Linked DNA regions of Homo sapiens: regions 2, 3 and 4 are each linked to region 1. The links are contacts of gene promoters, found by promoter capture Hi-C in blood cells and fetal thymus (Javierre and others, 2016). All regions are on one chromosome and are shown on one strand. The core of a region is centred on a gene start or on the middle of the fragment in contact, and the rest is flanking DNA. Distances in the headings are between cores, read along the strand shown. Region 1 holds the start of THAP9 (THAP domain containing 9). Region 2 holds the start of LOC105377308 (a long non-coding RNA gene). Region 3 overlaps HNRNPD (heterogeneous nuclear ribonucleoprotein D). Region 4 overlaps HELQ (helicase, POLQ like).

Region 1 (4,769 bases), core at 2,270-4,769:
GCGTATTAGGGTGTAGCTGCCCCTCCATATCAGGCTTGATGCTGAGAAGACACTTCCAAGTTAGCATGAGATTCTAGAAGTAGAAATAATTATGTAACAAATAATGATATAACAATAATTTCAAAACTCCATGGCTTTCTGAAACAAAAGACAGAACTCAAACAATGAAAAATTCGGCAACACAAAAGGGTAGGTCCTCAACAAGCAAGATACCAACCCTAGAAAGCAAGAAGTCTATACCTGCTTTCATAGAGTTATTATGAGAAATAAATATTGTTTAAGAAAACCAACTCTTTCTATATACTGTATATAAAAAGCTTAGCAGCCTGGGCAACATGGTAAAACCCTGTCTCTACCAAATATACAAAAAAAAATTAGCCAGGTGTAGTGGTACATGCATGTGGTCCCAGCTACTTAGGAAGCTGAGGTGGGAAGATTGCTTGGGCCTGGAAGACAGAGGTTGCAATAAGCTGAGATTGCGCCACTGCACTCCAGCCTGGGTGACAGAGTGAGACCCCATCTCAAAAAATAAAATAAAATGAAATGAAATTAAAAAAAGCTCAGCATAATTTGTGGCCCATAGTAACTGGCCAATAAATAAATATCTGTTATTATTCTTTCCAAGTGGACAATTAATGAGATTATATACCATAAAATAGGTAGATTTCATTAAAGCCTTAATAAATGTTTTTTACTTGGACAATCCTCCATTTCCAACTCACTGCTATAGTTCCAGGAATACTTAATACATTTAAAATAGAAAGATATACTACCTTCCCTGCATATTTTGAGTAATTATCTTCCAAGACCCATGTATCTTTTCTCAACATCTCTGAGAGTACAATTCCTGAAAAGAGATATTTTCTTTTAAAATTTTTTGTGCAATAGTCAATGCCTTTGCAAATAACACTATCTTTAATACAGCTTACATATCCTCATTTAAGTATTCAATAATCACAACGGTTCATTATGTGAACAGCAGTGAAAAGGTTTAATCACTGGATATGAAGTTACTAGAAGAAGCAATGATATAACCAAATGATCAGATTGAGAACTTCCATGTCAACAGTAAAATAATCACAACAACAAAAAAAGTATAGATAAGTTATAAACAAATGTAAAGATACAAAAATACAACTAAGAAAAAAAAATTCCATCTATAAAGGATTACTTATTTCCTATGCAGAAGTAAATATCTAGAGCAGTGACCCCTTGCGGCTATTGCCTTCATTTAAGTAAATCTGTTCTGATAAAAGCAGTTTTCAGAAATTCATCTGAAATTAACAATTAAAGGAATGTTGTCAGAATAATGTAGGAAGCACACTATTTCATCTTTAGGAAAGGCAAATAGTTGCAATCCAATTAAACAGGAAAGAAAACAGCCCTCATTTCAGATGATGAACTGGCAGCAGTACTTTCAACTCTACCTTAAGAAAATGGCAAGTGAATGCCTGTATCTGCAAACTTTTGAGTCCTTAAGAAAAGGCAAACACCACGATGAGACAGCCACTTCACATGCACAAAAATGTGGAGAAACTGGCAGCCTCATCCACTGCTGGTGGGAATGTAAAATGGTGCAGCCACTAGGGAAAATAATCTGGCACTTCCTCAAGAAGCTAAACACAGTTATCTTATGACTCACCAATTCCACTCTTAGGTGTGTAATCAGGAAAATGAAAACATTTGTCCACACAAAAACTTGTACACAAATGTTCATAATAGTAAAAAAAAAAATTGGAAAACCCAAATGTCCACCAACTGTTGAACGGATAAACAAAATCTGCTACATCCATAAAATGGAGTACGATTCAGCAATAAAAAATAAAGTACTGATACGTGCTATAAGATGGATGAACTCTGAAAACATTCCAAGTGAAAGAAGCCAGTCACAAAGACCATATATTAGTTCATAATTCCACTTACATGAAGTGTACAGAGCAGGCAGAGGCACACGGAAACTAAATTAGTGTTTGCTGAGCGGGGTGGGGGAATATTTGGAGGTGCTGCTAGTAAGAATGAGGTTTCTTTCTGGAGTGATGAAAATGTTCTAATATTGATTGTGACTGTTCCACAATTCTGTGCATATACTAAAACCCACTGAATTGTACACTTTAAACCAATTAGTTGTGTGGTATGAGAATTATATCTGAGTAAAACTGTTACAAAAATATAAGGCAACTAATTTTTTCCTTAAAGATAGCTAAAAACAATGTTATTTTTATTCAGCCTCACTCGGGTCTTAATTGGTTGAGCAGGAAAAGGCTCTAACAGCCCAACCAACTTACAGTATTTAAATCCAGTTCTTACTCTCTGCACACACCTTACAGCCAAAAAGTATTTGCCCTGCACATCCCCCAGGGACCAATTTTTCCAAAGTTCCTTGACCATCTATCCTTAGGCCATGTGACTTTTAAGGAACCATAACCAAAAGCTATTAATTCCATTCAGAGAAGATACAAGCATATTATAATGGAAAACTGGTGTGAATAAGTAATACCTTAATATGTATCTTCGGCTGTAATCTGGACAAAGTAAACACAAAGGGGAAAAAGAAGCAATCTTGTTAGGCCTGGATATTTGGAATTATTTTTGTGTGCTATACAAAGAAACGGAAAAGTTGCAAACCCTTCTCTGTTTTCTGTATGCTAAGGATCTCCTTCTCAGAGACAAAAACCCACTGGCCCGTTTCCTTCTCTAAGCAAATTGAAATCTCTTCCTCAAACATAAGAGCTTATAACTAAGACATTGTTCTAAGCTCTATCTCCTGAAAGCTATTCATAATGCCTCATTCCCAACCAAAACCACTTAATTGCCCCTTGTCCCCTGCCCCTATTACTACTGAGGAGCCCCAAGAACCTTACCTTATTTCCTTCATTGTGGCAAAGTGTTTCAGAAAAGGGTTCCTTGAATTAAAAGTCGGCGTATCCTATTTGACTCCTGCTCCTCCGGTATCACATACCTACAGCCAACCATGCCAAGAGCTTCCCCATTATCTCCGCATCGGAGAGCTACAAGATAAAGCGCAAGAACACGACACGCATCTCAGTAAATCATATATTTTTGGCCCGACTCTGTCTTCAACACACCTAAGGCACCGTGTTTTATCCCTCTTCCATACCCTTTCCTCCCGATATCCTCCAGTTTCAGAGACCGCACCCGGAGACCCATTGGCAGGTTCCTGGATTCGCCTCAATTTTGGTCCTGCCTCTCTGCTTCGCATTTTCAGGCTTGGCCTCACAAGAAGGACGATGGCGCCAGATTGTGCCAGAATGGGTGAAAACAGAAGGAAAATAAACCGGTTGCAGCAAAACCCACTATTCCGCCTCCAACGCGGAGGGAGGAGCGGTCAAATGCACGTCTTCAGGCTCAGGCCCTTCCGATTGGCTGCTGGGACACAACGTGGCCTGTCATTGGCTACGGCACCGGCGCAGGGCCTTCGGAGAGGAAGTGTGGAAGTCCCGCGCCTCTAAAGCCCGCCTTTCGTGACAAATAAAGGTCGTAGCCGCAGAGTCAACGGGCGGAGCTAAAGTGGTCGTGATTCATGCTGTCGCGGGAACCCCGAAGGTGGGGCCCCACGTAACAAGAAGATGACCCGAAGTTGCTCCGCAGTGGGCTGCAGCACCCGTGACACCGTGCTCAGCCGGGAGCGCGGCCTCTCCTTCCACCAGTGCGTATGGGAGCAGCCTCGAAGCCTTCGAACTCCCTGCGGGGCCCGGCGGGCCGTGGCGTGGCGTGGGGCGGGGCCGGGCCGCACTGTGGGTCGCGCCGCGTGTGTGACGCGACGTGACGTGCGCAGCGTCGGGGCGTGGGAGCGGAATTGGGGCACTGTGAGAATTGAGATTCTCTCTCTTCCCGCCCAGTGTTTACCTCTGAATAGCCGGTTCTCGCACCGCCTACCGCTTTAAGGAGAGTTACGCGAAAGGAGTCCTCCATTAATTGGATGGTCTTATTATTTGAAGTGAGGAGGCCGAAAGGGAAGGCAGTTTAGGACAACGGTTGAAGTGTGTGTGTGGCGTCTTCCTGAGCACGAGTACAGATCAGTTTTCTCCTGTACTGCCTGACATTGCAAGTTCTTAAGTGCTGTTAGCCGAGCTGTGCAAGGCCGGTCCGATTCTGGCTGGATTTGATCATGGCAGGGAAGTTTCATTTGGCTCGACAGTGGGGAAGAATTTCAGATCAGTCTTATCTGAACTCATATCCATGGTTCAGACTGGTATAGGTCATTCAGTATTCAGGGTACACTAGCAAGTAGAAAAGTGGGTAAAATAGATCCTCACAGACAAAAGGAGCAGATTTATGGAAAGATCAAAAAGAACTTTATGGTTGGAAAGGGGGGGTAGGAAGAGGGTAGTTAGGAATGGCATGGGAAAATGTAAAGGATAGAAAGTGCAAATATAGAGGAGTGGAAAAGTACCTGAGAAACCATTTTAAAAATGTAAATGCCAGGTTAAGGAGTTTAGAGTATGTATGGTAGGCTATGTATAAAATTCATTGATTTTTTTTTTTTTTTGTTTTCTATTTTTTAAATAGGGCTGATTCCTCCACCTAAATTGTTAGCAGTGTGAACCAACTCATTGTGTATGTGAGACCATAATTGATTTGGGATTTTTCTTGTGATAGAGGTAGTTTTAAACTAGGGAGACATGAATTCCAATTTTAATTGAGTATTTACTGATGTCTGTACTTGGCTCTGGGTCTTGGTTTCTTCTTCTGTAAGAGGAATAAAAACCTGCCTTGTAGAATTTTGTAAAACTAAAACGTAAGACTTT
Region 2 (4,769 bases), core at 1,414-3,913, 620 kb before region 1:
CCAGCCTGGGCCACATGGTGAAACCCAGTCTCTACAAAAAGTACAAAAATTAGCCAGGCATGGTAGCATGTGCCTGTATTCCCAGCTGCTCAGGAGACTGAGGTAGGATGACAGCTTGATTCTGAGAAGTCAAGGCTGCAGTGAGCCAAGATTGTGCCACTGCACTCCAGCCTAGGTGACCAGTGAGACCCTGCCTAAAAATAAAAAGAACAAAATTAGCAGAGCATGGCGGCACTTGTCTGTACTCCCAGCTACTCAGGAGGCGAAGGCAGGAAGATCACTTGAGACCAAGAGTTCGAGGCTGCAGTCAGCTATGATCCCACCACTGCAGTCTAGCCTGGAAAACAGAGTAAGACTCGGTCTAAAAAAAAAAAAATTTTCAGAAAAATGTATATAAAATGCACAAAAATGAAAAGACAAATATAAATTAGATTATTCCAGTGGTTCTTTTATGGGATGGTAAAAATAGACAGGCTTTTACTCTAGTATTGTTTACTTTTTTTTTTTTTTTTAGACAAGGTCTCACTCTATTGCCTAGGCTGGAGTGCAGCAGTGCGATCATGACTCACTGCAGCCTTGACTTCTCAGCCTCAAACAATTTTCCCAGTTCAGCCTCCCAAGTAGCCGGGACCACAGGTGCGCACCATCACGTCCAGCTAATTTTTCTATTTTTTGTAGAGACGGGGTTTCACCATGTTGTCCAGGCTGGTCTTGAACTCCTGGGCTAAGGTGGTTCTCCCACCTGGGCCTCCCAAACTGCTGGGATTACAGGCTTCAGCCACTGTGCCCAGCCTAAATTTTTACAGTGATCACATACGTAAATAAAAAAATTATAAAAATGTTCCATTTTGAAGAACAATAACTAAAAAAACAGTCCTTTATGAGAGAACTTCAATACTTAATAAGACTCATCTTGAATTAGTGAGTGCTTGAAAGTCTCCAGCTGACAAAAACACTTACAAACTCTCTAATGACCTAAGAAGTCAGATGACTAAAAAATTAGTTGCTCTTCCTTCTGGGAAGCTAACCTCTAAAAAGCAATGATAATTCAGGCATAGTGGCTCACGCAGGTAATCCCAGCACTTCGGGAGGCTGAGGGGGTCGGATCACTTAAGGTCAGGGGTTCGAGACCAGACTGACCAACATGATGAAACCCTGTCTCTACTAAAAATACAAAATTAGCCAGGTGTGGTGGTGCACACTTGTAATCTCAGCTATTCAGGAGGCTGAGGCAGGAGAATCACTTTAACCCAGGAGGCAGAGGTTGCAGTGAGTCGAGATCGTGCTACTGCACTCAAGCCTGGGCAACGGAGTAAGACTCTGTCTCAAAAATAAATAAAATAAAAAGCAATGATAGTAGTATTCACCAGTCAAAGTACTGATGAGTCTAAAAGCATGTTGTGAAAGAAATTAACAACAGTGAAATGTCCCATTTCACCTTCCCAGGATCCTAGCTTCTCACCACTCTTTCTGCTGCATCCTCAAGATTGTATCAAACTATCAAGGGAAAGGTGGAAATGTCTGTGATATTTTATATTACCTGCCGTGGTTTTCATTCTCAGTTATTCTCTTTGGCACAAAAATGGAGAATGAAAAAAATGGAGGAGGAGGAAGGAGAGATGGAGGAAGAAGAGAGTAAGACAGAAAAGCTTCTCATTCTAAAAAGTTTCAAAATAGATTTTGGGAACTCTCTGAAAACAGAGTATATGGGGAAAAAAAGGTTTCAGACAATCAACGTTCATGGCATCAACTGGGAAAACGCCCAGGGTGGTCAGAGTTGCCCTACCTAGACTTGCTGGAATGTCCACATGTCAGAGAAGGACAGAATGAGAAGGAAGCACTCCAACTAGCTAGAGCCCTCTCTAGGAAGTGAGGGGTGACATAGTGTGGTGATGAGAAGACTCCTAGTAAATTGGGGATCCAAGAGCTTGCTTCCCAAATGAAGTAAGGTCTAAAAGCTGCTCCCCACATGATAGCAGTGACACAGCACAACAGGAGAGTGCGACAGGAGGGCATATTGTGACACAGCCTCTGGAGCCACCCGCAGCCTCACAATGACATGTGGGAGCAGTGGGAATTTTTCTTCGCCTCCAAGAGGACCAAAAAAGTGACTGAAAGAGAAACAGAGCACCTAAAGGGGCCTTGGGGTTCCAAGTAGAGTGTGTGACTGGTGATCAGAGACAGACAGAAAACAAACATTAGCTGCAGATTCCACCTTAGAGGGACGAAGGTCACTAATTGGAAGCTCTTTCCCTCCACCAAGTTTCCCACACTCAGAGATGCCACCCCATGGGGAAAGAAGGAAAGGGAGAAATCCTGAGTTAAGTGAGGAAACCTGGCATTGACTAGAGTAAGCCTTGGCTATCAGGCATAATACAGCATACAGAAAACATACAGGAAGGAAAGAAAGCACAAGGGACAGTATGCAATTGGAGGGGAGGATTAAAGGCTTAGAATGACTGCTGTGCTGAAAGCTCACCAGGGAGAAGGGGCTCAAAAAAGATAGATTTGTGGTGAGGTTTATTCGGTTTGTTTTTACTGTAAGCAAGACCCTGGGGTAAGCAAAAGCATTACCCCAGAGTTAACAAATTTCCTCTTCCCAGGTATAAGTAATGTGACCAGTGGTTTTAATCAGTCACCCTGCCTGTAACACAGACACACTTATCAAGCTGATAAGACACACTGATTCGAGATTTCCTGTATATAGGATACATGATTCAACAAGGCATTTTTCTCAGGAGCTATAGTGCAGACCAGTTTCGCTCCTTCCTTGTCAAATCCAATTTGATTACCCTGTGTTAAAGGAAATGGAATTGACTACCTGCCTTCACCCAGACACCCAGAAGGATACTGATTGTCATTCTTTAAGGTTACACCATTGGGTTCAGGCGCAGTGACACACCTGTAATCCCAGCACTTTAGGAGACCAAGGAGAGTGGACCACTTGAGGTCAAGAGTTCAAGACCAGTTTGGCCAACATGGTGAAACCCCGTCTCTACTAAAAATACAAAAATTAGTCAGGCGTGGTGGCACACACCTGTGGTCCCAGCTACTCAGGAGGCTGAGGTGGAAGGATCGTTTCAACCCAGAAGGTGGAGGTTGCAGTGAGCCGTGATCATGCCACTGCACTCTAGACCCTGTCTCAAAAAAAAAAAAAGATTACACCATTGGGAGCAAGAAAGTAATATGTACTTATCACAAATTACTGCAATTGCATAACTACTGTATGCTAATATTTTTGCATAATTATTTCATTTAAACTTGACAATTACCCCCATTTTATGAACTAGGAAACTGACTCTCAGAAAGATTAAGTTACATAAACTCATGGAGTACATGGGCAATGCCCATATATGAATCTAAGTTTGTCTGACTTCAAAGGCAAACTCTTTCCACTCTACCACAATACCTTGGTGATGAAAATATATAAGGTCACACTTTTAAAAAATTATTGTCAAGGCACCCAAGGTCTAAGACAACAAAAGTCATGCTACCACTCCTTCCACTCTGCCCTCCTACCTACTCTCTCATACACCTTTTCTCTGCCACACTCATCCCCCAAACCCACCTGCCTTCTTTCAAGCCTTTACAGAAGCTATTCCCTCTGCCTAGACTCTCCTATCTTTCTTTCCTCCCCACTTAGAGAACGCCAACCCATCCTCTAAGTCAAGGACTTTTAAAGCTTTGCTAGCTCTCCATCCCATCTTCTGCAGCTTTGTTCATCTTTCCCTGATAGCACACGCATACCACTTGAGACTGGCGTTTCTCCGCCTGTGCCTCTGTAACCACTACTAGAATATGAACTCCTCAACTTCAAGGTCGGGGCCGACCTACTTGCATACCCAGGAATCTAAGGCATTTAGCGCACAGCCGGAGTTCAATAAATGCCTGGATTAATGAATTAATTTTCTTTAAAATCAAGGTCTACATTTCACATGCTCTAGATTGTGAATAAATCATAAGGAGGTAAACACTATGAAGTACACTGGCGCTCGACAAATGATTTTAAGGAGAAAGGCTGCCACCCAAAGCAGGTTTCTCCAGAGACCCCGCCCGTGTCCCGTCAAACGCGCCGCTAGGGCTGGAGACGGCCCCGCCTCTCTCCCTGCCAATCAGTCCCTCTTCGCGCCTGCGCACGCACCGCCCTCTCCCGAAGCCCCGCCCCGGTCACCGCCCCGAGGCTGTCCCGGACGGTTGGGTCCAGAGGAGCCTTTCCTTCACTGGCCCGCCTGCTATGACGATCATGTACAGCTGCATTGCTAATGGCCGAGCGGTCCTAGCGGAGCTGACACTGACTGGAGGTTCTTACCAGGTACCTCCGGATCCACGCCACCGCCCCCACGGGTTCCGCCCCTCGAGGGTGGTGCCCCCCGAGCCCGCCCCTAAGGACGCGGCGCTGCGAGGTGGTCCGGAACCTGCTCGGGGGACACAAGCTCCCGCCCCGCGAGAGATCCCGCCCCCACGAGAGACCCCGCCCCCGCAAGAGGCCCCGCCCCCGCGAGAGGCTGGCGTCCCGGCGGCTGCCGCACGTGCGCCACCTAGGGGACAGAGCTGGCGCTGCACGTGCTGGGTTTGGTGGCTATTTGAACCCAGGTCCAACTTTGATAGACCCTAAAATTTGTCTTTCTCCTGCGGAGAAATGACCTGCAGTTCAGCACACATTTATTGAACATATCTCTGTCACAAAATCCCAGAGTAAAGAATATCACGGATTCAGCAGTGAACATGAGCCTGGCATTGCCCCTTTATATCCAAGGGCTATAGACAAT
Region 3 (4,769 bases), core at 1,633-4,132, 540 kb before region 1:
CAAGTTGATGGGTATCAATTCCCTGAATGCTAATAACAGAACTCAAGAAGCTTCCAACAAATGACAGGAAAAACAATTCTGACTTAATCCTATAGTTATCACTTAGACTCTTCAGTTTCACTTTCTTAAGAGTGACTCAAAAAGTTCCTTAGGCACACATACTAATAATCACAGTCCTGAAATTTTAAGGCCCTAACCAAAAAAATAAAACCTTTGAGAAATGGAAAATAAAATCATTCAAACAAATAAGCACACACACATAAACACGGTATATATTTCTTTAATCCTCCCTCAACACTTGAATTCATCTATGAAGTCCACCACAGCTCTAAAAATCTCTCTGAACTAGCCGCATTTCTATTATAATTAACAGATTTTAAGTCCTTTTTATTTAATGGAAGCATAAAACATTAACTATCTGTGCAAAGGGGTACTTTTGCACATTTATCCAGATTTGTTCTAAAAAGCACAATACATATTAAGCAAAAACTGGGCATTTGGGAAAATATTCATATAAATCTTAATGGCTACATAAGGAAGTATTATTAAAACAACCAACAAACAAATTGACATTAAGTCATTCCCAATTTGGACAGGGAGGACACATTATGGCAAAAATTAGATTTTGCTAAAAACATTTCAAACTTCACTGCAATTTTAATCATGTCCTCAATTTCGGCAAGCCTGTCTTCCAAACTTATGCTTTTAATAACTTGAATCCATGACAATTTTTCCTATTCTGATGATAAAAGAGCCAATACATTTTTATACAAAAGGATTTATTAAAAAACCAGTAAGACACTACTACATCATGACACTGTCACACTGGGCTTTTAACACAAGACTTGCTCTACAATACTGGGGGAAAGGGCATAAAACACAAATTGATTCTGAAGCATAGCAATTAAGAAATAAAACAATGAAAGCAAATTTCTTTTAATGAGAACTCAGAATTAAACTTCAGAGGGACCCAACGTCATACTTCCATTCAGGGACTTGATACAAAAAATTTAGTTTGAACTGCTATTAGCAGGTGGCAGGAGCCACCTTCAAATGAATCTTCAAATTGGAAAATACTGCTTCACCACCTGGAGACAAAGAAGAAAAAATAGAAGTCACTCTGGGCAGGCTACAACACTTAACAAAAATTTACATAAAACTGAGTTATCCCTATGTTCCACTATATGTAAATACTGTATAACATTAAATGTGTGATATGTTTTATAAATTAAAGCTGAACAGTAGAGTCCATGAGCTGTAAATCCACATGTGCACCACTGGTTTAAGATGTGATATGCTTTTACAAGTATTCTTTAAAATATAAAAAGCTTTAAAGTATTTACCCAAAGAACTCATAAAAAGGTCAATTTGGTAAAAGGACATTTTGACCCAAGAGCATCTAATATTTAAGCTTATTTTATTGGATAAGCATATCTCTTGTCCATCACAAGTTATAGAAAAGTTATATACGACTAAAAGAAAAAGTTATCTACTGTAATTATAGGAAGTTGTCACAACAGGAATTCAGCTCAAGAACTTCTTGCAATTACTGCTACAACGTCTATAAATGGGAAAAGCAAGCATTAAAATAGATTAATAAAATATAAAATTAAGACTGGAAAATCCAGAGACAAGCTGTATCCTTAGAAGAATAAATAGTTAAAATTATTCAGTAAGCTGACGTATTTAACCATTACTGGGCCTGTAAAAAATGCATTAAAATTACATTACAAATAGTTTTTAAAAAGCAAAGAAATAAGTGAAGGCAAAGCTTGAAGTATCCATTTTATTTTATAATGCTGATACAGGATGTTGGAAGAGACCATACCAAACGGCAGCATTCGAGAGCGTGAGCATCTCGTACCCTGTCCGCATTGAGCGGGCCTGTGAGAATCGTGAAGTCAGCGCGACACAGGGCCTGCAATGAAGTTCCCGCTGGCGGGTACAAACAAGGTATAATGTCAGAGTTAGTAGGCAATACTTTTTTGCTGCAATTCCTTAATTTGTACCCATTAGCAGTACTTTACCTGTTAACTTTACTGACTTGTTAATAATAGGACAAAAAGGCAAAAGCTTAAGAGCACCTGTGTTACATATCTTTGAAAGTCACTATGTTATAATATGGTAAGCACTTCTGGGTGCTGTGAAACTCTTAAATTAAGCATTGTTTTATGAACAATATAGATTATAAAAACTACTATTGTAAATGACAAAAAAAAACTATTTTTAGAACATACCTGTTGGGGATAAGTTGCAAATGGAATAATTTAGTATGGTTTGTAGCTATTTTGATGACCACCTCGCCTGGATACCTTCCCATAACCACTCTGCTGGTCTAAAATAAAACAAGTGTTAGAACCAGAACGGTAGTGGTTACATACTAATAATCAGAACAGTACCTAATTTTAAACAATCTCAAAAAATTAAGGGTAGCTTAATTCCCAAGTGTGAAAAATTCACCCTGAGCAATCATTTATCAAATAATTTACCAAATATGTAGTGAATGCATACAATGGCAGGCATTCAGAATGAGCTGATTACTTGACTTATTGTATAAAATGGGAGACAATCCCCTCACCCTTACAGTTTAAAAGTTTTAAGTTTCAAAGGATGGACAGCTGACCCTTTCACAACCACCAGCAAAAAATATCTTAAAATTTAGAACAAATTGTCAACCACAATCAGTGCTTAGTATCTCTGCCCTTCTAAGAAAAGGGCCCCAATCTCACCCAATCCATCTTTGCTGACCTTCTTCTGACTTTAATTAACCTATTATTGTGCAGCAGGCCTAGTCACCTAAGAAAGGATATAACTCCAAGAACTGGTCTAACCAAGGAAGGAAAAGAAAAACCACTTAAAACAATGCAACCAATGCAACCACTCTCCTCCAAAAAAATGTAAGATTGCTTCTAGTAGAACCCTTTACCTGACGACTCAACAGTTGCTACAAATCAGGTGGAGAGCAACTACCTTAGTTGCACAATGAAGTCAGGGCTTTCCATGTCTAAAAGTCAAGTTTTTTGGTTCTATCAAGCTCAACATCTGTTTTAAGAGTTTCTACATTAATAATCCTAAAGCGAGGATACTATTAGTTTTAACTGGCAACATGTGGTATTATTCAGTTTTATAGGATTAAGACACATCATGCCAAGATTATTGGTTGGTCCAAGAAGTGACATTTAGAATACCTTGAGCTTAAAAGATCTGAACTGAGCTTAAAATTTTTAAATCCAAGTAAAACAAATGCCCAGCAAACATATATAGAACCACACATACACCCTACCCTTATAATGTGTGTGTGATATAGGCTGGGAGGAACCAAGCAATAAAATGGCTGCAGTTTCAAGTTTCCAGGAATTTGAAACCTGAAGACATTTGCACTTGGCAAGGCTACACTAACCTTTCTGCCTATCCAAATTTGTACAAAATAAATGTCAAATAGCAGTTAATATAAAAAGTATAGTACTTACTGCTATAATCACCATATCCATAGTAGTTGTTGTAACCAGTGTAGTCATATCCTCCATAACCACCGTAACCTTGGCTGTTATATCCATAGTTGCCATAGCCTTGATTCCAATAGTTACTATATCCCTGGTTCCAGTTTTGACTGGGGCCTGCAGCACATTAATAGGTTCACTAAAGTCAGAAGATCAGCAAAGATCTTTACTTCAGGATAATTAAAAAGCAGAAAAGCTTAAGATAGAGTAAACTTAGGCTCTAGCTTACCACCACCTCTTCCACGAGCTCTTCCTGCAAATCCTCCTCTAGATCCCCACTGTTGCTGTTGCTGATATTGTTCCTTCGACATGGCTACTTTTATTTCACACTAAAAGAGAAAAATTACATTATTAAACTGACTCAAGAAAATAAAAGTTGCTAAATAAGTTTCTAATAACCAGAATAGCCAACATGTTTAAATAGAGTAGGCTAATTTGAAACTTTCCTCAGTCAGTTTATTAATTAAACCAATATTTAGTACTTAAGAGTAATCACTTATGAGTACTTGCTAGTGATGTTACTTCATTTTACTTGTCAAGTTCTAAAAACTATTTTTGTGAAAGCCTAGACAAAAACACTAACAAATGTGTCCATCCTGCTCCCCACAAAAAGTTGGTCAATGGTAAGTAACCAATGAGAAGTTTTTAAAGCATGCAAAGAACTTAAGCCTTTACAGAGAAAGATAAATGGTTAAGCTCTTTACAACAGCTAGTTTTCTCTACAAGTAAATGGATGCTTAACTTACTTTACTAAGACCAACATTGTGGTATTTCTTTTCCATTATCTTCTTCACTGGTTCTTCTTCCTTAAAGGTAATAAAGCAGAACCCACGCCTCTTATTGGTCTTGTTGTCCATGGGGAGCTCTATGGATTCCACCTGGTATTAAAAAACAAATTTTAATATGCTAACATGCATTTTATTGACCTTAAAAGAAACACAAGTTTAGAGGGGGGAAAACACACAAAGAAAACATGTATTTGGCACTGAAGTTCTAGTCTCCTGTTTCTCCCTATTTATTCTAATCCTTTTAAGGAATTCTTCAAATTAGAACACCCATTCCATCTAAGGTCTTCACAACTATTTACAAAAATAAGCTTTACCACGCACTGACATTTACTACCTAACTCAAGGGTCACAAATTCAAATGCCCACAAAGAACAAGAAGAAAACAGTCAAATCTAAGAAAAACAGAATAAAAATGTATTTGAGAGAAAACAGGAAGTAGGGTGGTGAGGACTACTAAAAACTGGAGAGCATATGCCCAAAC
Region 4 (4,769 bases), core at 1,363-3,862, 540 kb after region 1:
GAGGCAGGAGAATCACTTGAACCCGGGAGGCAGAGGTTGCAGTGAGCAGATATCATGCCACTGCACTCCAACCTGGAGACAAAGCGAGACTCTGTCTCAAAAAAAAAAAAAAAAGGAGTAGACTATTATAAGGAAAGAACAACAAAAGAGAGTTCTTAGAAATAAAAAAAAATTAACTTTATTTAAAAATTCATAAAAAATTTGAAGGGCCAGGTGTGGTGGCTCACACCTGTCAATCTAGCACTTCGGGAGGCCACGGTGGGCAGATCACCTGAGGTCAGGAGTTTGAGACCAGCCTGGCCAACATGGCGAAACCCCGACTCTACTAAAAATATAAAAATTAGCCAGGTGTGGTGGTGGGCGCCTGTAATCCCAGCTACTTGGGAGGCTGAGGCAGGAGAATCGCTTGAACCCAGGAGACAGAGGTTGCAGTGAGCCGAGACCGCACCACTGCACTCCAGCCTGGCCACTGGGCAACAGAGTAAGACTCTGTCTCACAAAAAAGAAAATTCAATTGAAGAACTGAATAATGAATGAAAATAGTTAATGGATACAGTTAATGTAGTTAATGGATATCAGTTAAAAACTCATTTTTTTTTTTGAGACAGGGTCTCACTGTTGCCCAGGCTGGAGTGCAGTGGTACAATCATAGCTAACTGCAGCCTCGATGTCCTGGGCTCAAGCAATCTTCCCACCTCAGCCTCTCGAGCAGCTGGGATCACAAGTGTATGCCACCATGCCCAGCTAAGTTTTTAATTTTTTAGTAGAGATGAGGTCTTGCTATGTTGTCCAGACTGGTCTCAAACTCCTGGGCTCAAGCAATCCTCCTACCTTTGCCTCCCAAAGTGCTGGGATTACAAAAAAACTGATTTTTTGATATGGAAGGTAAAGTTGAAAAAAATTACATGGCACAAACGTGTGCTTACATTCTTCCACATTCTGAAAAATGTGTAAGAAAAGAGATACGAAAGCTGAATCTAAGAGGCCTCAACCCTGCCTAAGTGAAATTATAAAAGCAAGGAACAGAGATAATGGGAAGAAAAAGAAATAACAGAAAAAAAATTACTCAAAGAAGAAAGGCATAAAGCTTAGATTAAAAGCATCCACCCAAGTGCTAAGCCCTATGAATGAAAAGTAGTACTGTTGGGATTGTAAAATCAAACTTCCTGGGTTCAAACACTGGCTTTAAAACTCATTTGTTGGAAAATGAGTTGGGAAAAAGTTATGTAACTTTTTAAAGTTGGGAAAATTATTTAATTATTTAGTGCCTCAGTTTCCCCTTCTATAATAGGTGTGTAATAAAATATGACCTTCCTCACAGAGTTATTGTGAAGCTGTATCAAGTCAATGCATGTAAAGTTGTTACTACATGAAAGGGAGGGGAATGTAGTAATTACAACTATTATTATACACCATGACAAAATTGGGAGGTTAAAGAGAAAAGTCTAAAAGTTTCTGGAAAAGAAAAACAGAAAATCCATGCAGAGACAAAAATGAGCAACATTGGCCTCTAGAAAATATGGAACAATATTTACAAAATCCCTAAAGGAAAAAAATTGAATCTAGAATTCTTTTGCTAGTGAAGTGTAAAAGTGTGAGGCCAAAATACAGATATCTTCAACTATGCAAAGAGTCAAAATGTTTTACCCCCTAAAGCGGTATTCTAAAAAGGATTACTCAAGGAAGGCAAAATTAAAAAAAAAAAAATCAGAGAAGAAAGATGTGGGATATAAGAGGCAGTGGTAAGCAAAAAAGAAGTATGATTTACAGGTAAGTTTAAATACTACATAAGATGAAAGAAAATGTTTAAATCTGGCACTAAAATTCTAAGTAATTGCAACATTCATGGGGCAGAGTAGAATATACTAAGGACATGCTAAGCCTCTTTTTATGTTCAGGAGAGGACAGTTATTGATTAATTCTAAAGTAATAAAAAATGTTTGGTTACAACTTAAAATTTTAAGAGTAACCACTGGAATAATAGAAACAGGATATATAACTTTCATTTTTTTCTTCAATTGTCTGAAAAATGGAAAACTTAATGAGAGACAGAAATTGAAAATAAAAGAATGGAAAAAGGTACATACGTGGCAAAAAAAAAAAATGAGTCCTGGTATTCAAAGCAAAATTATTAAATGAGAAAAACAAGTATTTATTGTATTGATAAAAGGTATAATTCGGCAATAAGATATTTGAAGTAAACCTTTGTATATCTAAATAGTTTTGAAATATAAAAAGTAATAACTTCTAGAGATGCAAAAAGGAGAAACTGATAACTACATAATTAAAGTGGGAGACTAACACACTTCTCTGAAATTGATAGACCAAGGAATCAAATATAGTAAGAAAATAGAGAAGCCGATAACACAATGAACCTCTGTGATCTCGCTGAGATGTACAAAACTGCATATTCAACTGAAAATACATATTTTTTTAAACACTCATGGAAAGTTTATAAAAATTGATCATTTATTAGCAAAATACCCCATGATCATAAATTATAAAGGGGAGAAGTCAATTACACAGGCCTACACCTTTGGTAATAACTGGAAAGGTAATCAAGGGCCTGCTTTAAAATACATATATTAGACACAAATTGCCTATGGATCAGCTCTCCAAGATTTCAAGGAAATCTCTATGTTAAATAAACTCTTTCATATCATAAAAAAGGTAAAACACTTGCCAACTATTTCTACAAAACCAGATTAATAGACCCTAACATCAAAACCAGATATAAAGAGCAGAAAGGATGGAATTCTAATATCAAGAAATCTATTAACGTTATTTTTCATTACATATTTCATTACATATTCATTAAAATATTAAAGAAAATAAACCAACCAATCAACTCAGCATATGCTAAAAGAACATTTGATAAATTCTCATCCACTACTGAGAAAGCATAAAACAACAAAACTCCTCGCAAGCTAGAAATGGAAAAGTTCTGAGCCTGGTCAACACTTACTTATCTCTTACCTTCGAGCTGGTAGGTTGACACCTGCCGCTAGGGTAGATGTGCAGGTAAAAAGACAGAGCACTCCTGTGGAGTAGGCCTCCTCCAAGAGTTTCCTTTCATCACTTGTTAAGCCACTGTGGTGATAGGCAACTCCAAATGGGATAGTGCGCTTTAAAACAGGACACAGGTTGCCATTGCCAATATTCTTCAAGTTCTTAATCACCTCACATTTTTCTTTCTCCTTATGTTTCAGATATTCCCTATGAAAAAGATCTGTTAGAAATATGAGCCCTTGATCTTTTAGTGACAAAATTTCTACCATTTTCATTTTAGTAGATGCTAATGTAAACATTCTTTAATGTACTATTTCCATTGAGTTAAGTACATTAAATGTTCTTAGAATTTTGATTCTGACTTCATTAACTATTAGGCAGTCTCTCAATCTTTTTGTGGATTACAGAACCCTGTGAAAATCTTATCAAAACTAAGGAAAGGCGAAATGCGATGGCTCATGCCTGTAATCTCAGCACTTTGGGAGGTAGAGGCAGAAGGATTGCTTGAGCCCAAGAGTTCAAGATCAGCTTGGGCAGTGAAGCAAGACCACCTCTACAAAAAATAACAAAAATTAGCCGGGCATGGTGGTGCATGCACCTGCAGTTCCAGGCTATGGGGGAGGATGAGGTGGGATGATTGCTTGAACCCGGGAGTTTGAGGTTGCAATGAGCTATGAACCTACCAGCCTGGGTGAAAGAGCAAAGCCTTGTCTAAAAAAAAAAAAAAAAAAAAGGAAAAATATAACTATTTACATAAATACAACACTTTACATATAATTTCAGAGGGTTCGTGGATTTCCTAAAATTCATTCCTGTACTTCCTTTGAATCCATGGACACCAGGTTTAGACCTTTGCTCTGGATGTTATAACTGTTTTTTTCTTTATAACATATATCTTTATAGGGGATAGTTTTTTTAAAGACATAAATTTTCTTTTCTGAAGATGGAAACATACATATTATTAAATCATACTTCCATGGTAAAACACTGCCTAAACACTTGCACTTTAGAAACTTCACATCCTACAATGTTTCCATCACTTAGCCAGTGTCTCCATCTTATTACCTTGAATTACTCTAAGAAAATGAATGATTTACTGAGAATTTTTTTAATGATAATTTAATTTCCTTAAGCTTTTATAATCAAAATCATTGTAAAAGCAGACTGTTACCAAAATGAGCAACTCCTTCATCTTATTCCAAACATTTTTATATTTTGCTATTCAATAAATTTAAGTCTATCTTAGACCAATCCATGATAGTAGGATTGAAAGAGGAGGTAGAGGTTGACTAGATTAGCATTCAGGTTAATAGACTATGAATAGTGATACAGCATTAGCTAAGGGGCTGAAAGAAATCTCAGAAAATGATAAAACCACACATGGGACAAACAGGTGTATAAAAAACTGAACTGTTAGTAGTTAAAGTAACTTCATACTTATCTCTATGAATACGACAGAGCCAATATTAAGATACTACAAAATTATAAGACAACACATTTCTTACTCAGGAAATTATATCCAAATGTCCATACAACTAAGTGTGAAGTTTACTAAGAAAACAAAGGCAGGCCAGGCGCAGTGGCTCACGCCTGTAATTCCAGCACTTTGGGAGGCTATGGGGGGCGGATTGCTTGAGCTCAGGAGTTCGAAACCAGCCTGGGCAACATGGTGAAATACTATCTCCATGAAAATTACAAAAAATTAGTTGGGAGTGGTGGTGTGTGCCTGTAGTCCCAGCTACTTGGGAGGCTGAGGTAGG

The links. The method cuts DNA at HindIII sites, captures the fragments that hold promoters and counts their contacts. A CHiCAGO score of 5 or more calls a contact.
Region 2: a contact is called between a fragment that was not itself captured here and the fragment with the promoter of THAP9 in region 1, in 1 of 17 cell types (fetal thymus). The highest score is 6.6, in fetal thymus.
Region 3: a contact is called between a fragment that was not itself captured here and the fragment with the promoter of THAP9 in region 1, in 1 of 17 cell types (total CD4 T cells). The highest score is 5.2, in total CD4 T cells.
Region 4: a contact is called between a fragment that was not itself captured here and the fragment with the promoter of THAP9 in region 1, in 5 of 17 cell types (naive CD4 T cells, total B cells, naive CD8 T cells and 2 more). The highest score is 10.0, in naive CD4 T cells.

The regions. Positions count from the first base shown.
Region 1 is chr4:82,897,216-82,901,984 of GRCh38, forward strand. It overlaps THAP9 (THAP domain containing 9), which reads left to right and starts at 3,520. Exons shown (of 5, transcript NM_024672.6): 1 at 3,520-3,667. The coding sequence starts at 3,588. It overlaps THAP9-AS1 (THAP9 antisense RNA 1), which reads right to left and starts at 3,701. Exons shown (of 4, transcript NR_034077.1): 1 at 3,119-3,701; 2 at 2,862-3,008. It overlaps SNORD144 (small nucleolar RNA, C/D box 144), which reads right to left and starts at 1,010; the gene lies at 925-1,010. It also overlaps a transcript of SEC31A not described here. RefSeq lists enhancers at 2,965-3,484, 3,100-3,219, 3,485-4,004 and a silencer at 3,530-3,879. The HindIII fragment of the contact is 4,998 bases long and covers 316-4,769 here.
Region 2 is chr4:82,280,819-82,285,587 of GRCh38, forward strand. LOC105377308 (a long non-coding RNA gene) reads right to left here and starts at 4,463. Exons shown (of 2, transcript XR_001741754.2): 1 at 4,310-4,463. It also overlaps the pseudogene VAMP9P. RefSeq lists silencers at 4,005-4,164, 4,205-4,594. The HindIII fragment of the contact is 2,033 bases long and covers 1,648-3,680 here.
Region 3 is chr4:82,353,067-82,357,835 of GRCh38, forward strand. HNRNPD (heterogeneous nuclear ribonucleoprotein D) reads right to left here. Exons shown (of 9, transcript NM_031370.3): 5 at 4,247-4,378; 6 at 3,730-3,829; 7 at 3,471-3,617; 8 at 2,238-2,335; 9 at 1-1,088. The coding sequence ends at 2,268. Among named protein-coding and RNA genes, the nearest start is that of HNRNPD, 19 kb to the right of the region's middle. The HindIII fragment of the contact is 1,623 bases long and covers 2,072-3,694 here.
Region 4 is chr4:83,433,882-83,438,650 of GRCh38, forward strand. It overlaps HELQ (helicase, POLQ like), which reads right to left. Exons shown (of 18, transcript NM_133636.5): 9 at 2,977-3,216. Among named protein-coding and RNA genes, the nearest start is that of HELQ, 20 kb to the right of the region's middle. The HindIII fragment of the contact is 3,055 bases long and covers 1,086-4,140 here.